Regions from separate parts of the Homo sapiens genome. Here region 1 is linked to region 2. The links are contacts of gene promoters, found by promoter capture Hi-C in blood cells and fetal thymus (Javierre and others, 2016). All regions are on one chromosome and are shown on one strand. The core of a region is centred on a gene start or on the middle of the fragment in contact, and the rest is flanking DNA. Distances in the headings are between cores, read along the strand shown. Region 1 holds the start of TEX55 (testis expressed 55). Region 2 holds the start of B4GALT4-AS1 (B4GALT4 antisense RNA 1).

What was found. The method cuts DNA at HindIII sites, captures the fragments that hold promoters and counts their contacts. A CHiCAGO score of 5 or more calls a contact.
Region 1: the fragment with the promoter of TEX55 here is called in contact with the fragment with the promoter of B4GALT4-AS1 in region 2 in 17 of 17 cell types (activated CD4 T cells, total CD4 T cells, non-activated CD4 T cells and 14 more); the score reaches 30.0 in activated CD4 T cells.

What each region holds. Positions count from the first base shown.
Region 1 is chr3:119,144,806-119,147,774 of GRCh38, reverse strand. It overlaps TEX55 (testis expressed 55), which reads right to left and starts at 1,610. Exons shown (of 3, transcript NM_152539.3): 1 at 188-1,610. The coding sequence starts at 1,585. It also overlaps a transcript of IGSF11 not described here. RefSeq lists a silencer at 2,059-2,353. The HindIII fragment of the contact is 11,642 bases long and covers 1-2,969 here.
Region 2 is chr3:119,225,122-119,227,931 of GRCh38, reverse strand. B4GALT4-AS1 (B4GALT4 antisense RNA 1) reads right to left here and starts at 1,446. Exons shown (of 4, transcript NR_046574.1): 1 at 1,251-1,446. B4GALT4 (beta-1,4-galactosyltransferase 4) reads left to right here. Exons shown (of 8, transcript NM_003778.4): 4 at 891-1,123. RefSeq lists a silencer at 2,472-2,644. The HindIII fragment of the contact is 1,940 bases long and covers 998-2,810 here.

The DNA.
Region 1 (2,969 bases), core at 361-2,860, 80 kb after region 2:
TTCTCTTTTATTTCCCATCCTTCTCTTGCCCTTCCTGAAATTATGGGTCACACATACCACAACATGTGGGTTTATTCTTTATCCTTGATGCAACATGTGCCCTTCCGTTGTACCCCTATTTTTACTCTCCAGGCCCCGTCTAGATCTCTGATCTCCCAGGTAGGTATCAAATGCCCATTTAACTTACAGATTTGGTTACTATGGCTTGAGTTTTTTCTTGACTGCTGGTATAGTTCAATTTGGATGAGATGGAGGGGAGTCTTGGGAAAAGAGCTTGGTCTTTTGCTTGGAAGTTACTGGTGAATCTGGCATCAACTGGGTTGTAGGGTGGGATAGTGGTTGCATTCTGAGTTTCCATTTCAACTGAAGGCTTGGAATTGAGGTCTACTTGGCTATCCTCAAATTTGCAGGGTTGTACTCTGTAGTCAGCCTCTTTGTCCTCTTTGCTGTTGCCTAACTGGGGAAATATTCTGTCTTCAGACTGGCCACGTGTTTCATAGTAAGACAGCTGGTCTTTATGATTAGCTTGTCTGTCTGCTAAGTGGTCAGTCTGGTCAGATTCAGTGTAGTGAGCATTGTCAACTGGAGGTTGATCAGCATTACTATGAGCTTGGTCAATAGCCTGGTGTTCAGCTAGTTCAGTGGCTTGGCCGTACACTTGGTGGTGAGTCTTTACAGATGTTTTGTGGTCAACGAGGCCATACAATCTGAGGTCAGTCTGCTCAGAAGTTCCTGGGTCAGCCAGGCCAGCCAATCTGTAGTCAGTCTTCTCAGAACTTCTTCTCCTAACTTTCCCTGACATTCTGCGGTCAATCTGTACGGAAGGTCTTTGGTCAGATGGTACGGACGATCCACTGTCAATCTGTACAGAAGGACTTTGGTCAGATGGGACGGATGACCCACTGTCAATCTGCACAGAAGGTCTTCTCTCAGATAGTTTGGATAATCTGTGTGTAATCTGCTCAGAAGTTCTTCGCTCAGCCTCGCCAGACATTCTGCGGTCCATCTGCTCGGAAGCTCTTCTCTCAGACTGGCCTGCCATTCTGTGGTCGGTCTGTCTGGAACCTCTCTGGTCAGATGGCATAGCCAGTCTACCATCAATCTGCCCAGAAGTTCTTCTCTCAGCCTGGGTAGGTAATCTTCGTTCAGTCTGTTCAGCAGTTCTTTCCTCCGTCAGGCCAGACACCTGACCATCACTCTGTTCATGCTGTACATTATTAGCTTGGCTAGATGCCTTGCCTTTAGTCTGTTCAGACGGTGTTTGATTAACCTGATCATCTGCTCTAAGGTCAGAAACATCAGCAGGGTTGGATGCTCTGCGGCCAGCCTGACCAGGTGTACTATGCCCATTTTGTTCAGCTACTCCGTTGGTAGCTTGGCTAAATATGCTGGATTCAGCCTGGCTAGGCACTCTTAGGGCAGTCTGGTCAGCTATTCTGTGAGCAGTGTGGTTATCTGCCTTCCTTTCGGCCTGGTTCTTCTGGTCGTCTTCTTCCTGGCCCTTAGTGTGGCCAGCACTTGAGGGAGCGGCTGGGCTTTCATGTTTCAAGGGTTCAGCCAGAGCCTCTTGCGGAGGCTCTTCCATTTCCTGCCGCGTCCCTGACTGGTCTAGGTTGCCAGGCACTGTGGGTGGGGTTGGGCTGGGTCGTCTAGGCGACCCTCCAGGAACGCCCCATGATTCCCACGGGCTTTGTTCGGGTCACTGCGTGCGTCAGGGAGAGTGGCCGTCCCGCTGTTGTAAGTGGAGGGACGGCAGTCAGCTGACCCTGCAGTGTGCAGGCGAGCGCAGGGAGTACGCCATGTCCTGAGAAGGGGCGATTCTCAGGCTCTGGCAGTTACAGCTTCTCCTCACCCTGCCGAGCAACCAGGCCACGGGGCTCCGTGCATCGCCACCTAGAGTGTTACCCTCTTCCTTGTTCACAGAGGTTCTCCGCAGTGTGTGAGAAAGAGGCCCTCTCTCAGGTACTGCTCCTCTGATTAACATCCCCCACCGCACCTCCAAATGTCAACAGATGAACACACAACCAGCTGCACGAGGACCACAAAACTGAACAGAGGTTGTTGCTATTGCCATCCCCTTTGGGTATAGCTGTCTTGGCAGTGGAAACTCCTGCCCCAAGGTGTTTTCTTGCTGGATTAGACATGTGATCTGTGGCGGGAGAGCCAGAGAGAGGAGAGAAGATCCAGTGAGAATGGGTTCTAAAACTGCACCATCTAGTGGTCTTACAGCAGAGAGGCGAGTTAGAAGGAGGCCAAATCAGAGTTCCAGAAAGGAAGGGAGTAAGGAAAGTGGGAGAAAGATACCAGAAGGAATATTTAGCAAGTGGAGAATTTGTATTTGATAGTGTTGGCCAGTGGGGCCCAGTTTTTGAGATTTGGTCCTCCCACTTTGCAATCAACCTTAAGAATGCACCTCAGAGTCAGTAGGCTGTCTACTTTCAGGAGTAGGCCAGTACAGAGGTGGTGATTGATGAGACAAATTACTTTGACCTTGCAAAGCCTGAAATCACTGAGGCAGGCCAAGGGTTGGTAGTGTGATGCCAGATATTCCTTTAGTAGGGATTTAACTGCATTAAACAATTAGAAATGAGACTTAAAATCCAAATTCAAATACTTGTGACAAAGGAGAGTGGATACACTTGACACCATACTTAGGAATGGAAAGGGGAATCTAAGCACACTGAAGTAAAGTCATTTATGTAACAGTGCCTAGAACATAATAGGTGCTCAAGAAGTGCTTGTTGAATGTCACTTTATGAATTATCTACCTTATTTATTTAAAAATGCATGACACCATTGGATACTGTGTTTAGAGTAAAATAGGTCTTGGGCTATGGCTTGTAGCTTCAAAGTGCTATTGGTTTTGGAGATTTATTTTTCCATTTTATAACTTAAATGTAATAATCATAGAAATATAAAAAAGAAAGCGTAAAGAAAAAAATTCCCAAACACTCAAGAGATAACCTGTA
Region 2 (2,810 bases), core at 197-2,696:
AGCACCAAGGTGCCATTAGACACGTGAGCCTGGTCTAAGCAGCCATGGCCAGGGTAGGGGATGGTTACATGGAACAAGTCATGGCGACTTTCGCACAGGAAGGGCCTATGACTGCTTTACTCAGAAGGGGATAGCTCAATTTGCAAGCATCTTGAGATTTTACAGCCTGACCAGTATACGTGGAATTTAGAAACAAACAAACAAAAAAACCTGAGCTGTTTTCCTCCTGTGGATGGCTTTGGGTTTCATCTGTTTGGATTGCTTCCAGACACTGAGCAAATACTGTGCTCGATTGGAAACGTCTGTTGTGGTGGCAAAATGGGAGAGTTGTTGCAGTGCCACACATACCTGTTACAGCTGGGTTAGGGAGGGAGACTGGTTTCTACTTCTTTTTAGTGCTTTGCTTACAGGGAGCCAGGGTGGTTCCAGAGTTTAGGGAAGGGGTGGGAAGAGTGCCTTGTCCAGGAGCTTGATTCTGTGGAATGCTGTTGATATTTAAGAGATTTTCCCCTCCTCCTGGAATTTGGTGAAGGAAAAGAGGATAGACCAAAGTTGAAGTTACTCTGTCTAGCCCTGCCCTTTGCTCTTACCAGAGTTCACCAGGATATTCCCTCTTACAGATGGATCATAGAGCAAGTTGATTACCCAGCCACAAGGAAATGCTTATATTATATATCCACCACTTGCTTTTGCAGCCAGTAACCTTAGTGACATGATGCTCTGGCCATTATCATGACTAAATGAGCCTTTAAAGTAATCATAATAAAAGCTGACATTTGTAGTACTCACTGTGAGCTGGGCAGTGTTCTTTCTATGCATATTAGCTCGTGTAAACCTCAACACTTTTTGAAGTAGCTACTGTTATTGTCTGTGTCCTATGTTCATTGTAGGAGGCCAGAGCAAGCTCATTTTCAAACCAGATCTCACTTTGGAAGAGGTACAGGCAGAAAATCCCAAAGTGTCCAGAGGCCGGTATCGCCCTCAGGAATGTAAAGCTTTACAGAGGGTCGCCATCCTCGTTCCCCACCGGAACAGAGAGAAACACCTGATGTACCTGCTGGAACATCTGCATCCCTTCCTGCAGAGGCAGCAGCTGGATTATGGCATCTACGTCATCCACCAGGTGAGCGTGGGGGCAGACCAGGGCCTGCCCTCGACCCTCCTCTTCTCTGCCAGACTTGGCCATGTGACTGTTTGTCTATGTTGGGTAAAAGGAACATCAGACTATCATCAAAAACGAGTTCTCTTACCTCATTTATCCTTGAAAGGAGTAGAGGAAATTCTTGTCTCAGAGTGTGGAGTTATGGGTTCAAGTTCTGGGAAATTTTACTGCCCTTAAAGGAACCTCTGGAGGAAGCCTGTTTTGTGAGCCCTTCCATGTTAGCCAATGACTGCCCTCAGATTTCCCCGGAGGCTTCCTGGCCCCTTCTGTTTCTTTCTGTGCGTGCCATGCACTATATGATGAGATTCTGGAATTGTCTGTCATTATCAACCATAGCAACTCAATGGGGATCTAGACAGAGGATTTGAAAGAACATTCTGTATTAGTAGCTGTGGTGCTCTATGGCTGCCACCACATTTCTGCCCTGAACTTTGCCACTATTTATTATGTGAAACATATTATGTTTGATTTTCACTTTCTGGATTCATCTATTTGACTTCCAGAAGCATGATTTGGTAGGAGCACAGCATAACTATCGGCTGCTTTTGAAGAGCTTACCTCTGAGGTCAGTGGAGTGGATGATTAAAGATACCTCTATTTGGCATTAAAGTTTATTGAAAGAAAACTAAGACATCAGTTTAAACATCAGTGTCTAAACTTTTCACAGTTATCCTTGGCCATCCAAGGAGGCCAAGAAGAGGGATAATTCCCCCTCAAATTCTTATAAATTCTAAGAATGTCAGCAAAATCATCACTACTGTTAGAACAGGTAATATTTCTTTTAGATAAAACTTTGGACAACTCAGAGGACCAGCTCTGCAGTATAGACTTGGTGATAAACTGAGGCTCTTGAAAATCAGTGTGCTTATATAGCACACCTATGTCTGTATTTTAGTACTTGGAACAAAATGTTACTATTATATTGTTTTATAGCTATTTTTGTTTTTAAGGTTGTTGGTCATAGTTATGATTTATTTGATTCTGAGTTCTTGCTCAGGACAGTAACCTACAAGGTATAGTACTATTTTTATGAATAGAAAAACATGTTTGCTTTGGGCCAGGCCCGGTGGCTCAGCACTTTGGGAGGCCAAGGTGGGTGGATCACTTGAGGATAGGAGTTTGAGACTAGCCTGGCCAGCATAGTGAAACCCTGTCTCTACTAAAAATACAAAATACTCTGTTAAAATACTAAAAAAAAAAAAAAAATTAGTTGGGTGTGGTGGCACATGCCTGTAGTCCCAGCTACCCAGGAGGCTGAGGCAGGAGAATCACTTGAACCCAGGAGGTGGAGGCTGCAGTGAGGTAAGATCACACCACTGCACTCCAGCCTGGGCAACAGAGCGAGATTCCATCTCAAATTAAAAAAAAAGAAAAAGAGAAAGAGAAAAATATGTCTGCTTCGTGTTATTCTTATCAGGAAAACATTGTGGTAACTTCTGAGAAATACTTGCACTTTTATGATAAACCACTTAACTGGAATTCATTCTGAAGGAATTTGAATGAAGCAGCCATGAAAAAATTATTTAATTTTTTTATTACAGCTTCAATCATATTACAGGTCAAACTGTGTTCTTTTATTGCCCAGTGACGAATCTACCTCCATAAGGCCACTGTGAGGATTAGCCTCCACCAGTAGCATTATAACAGG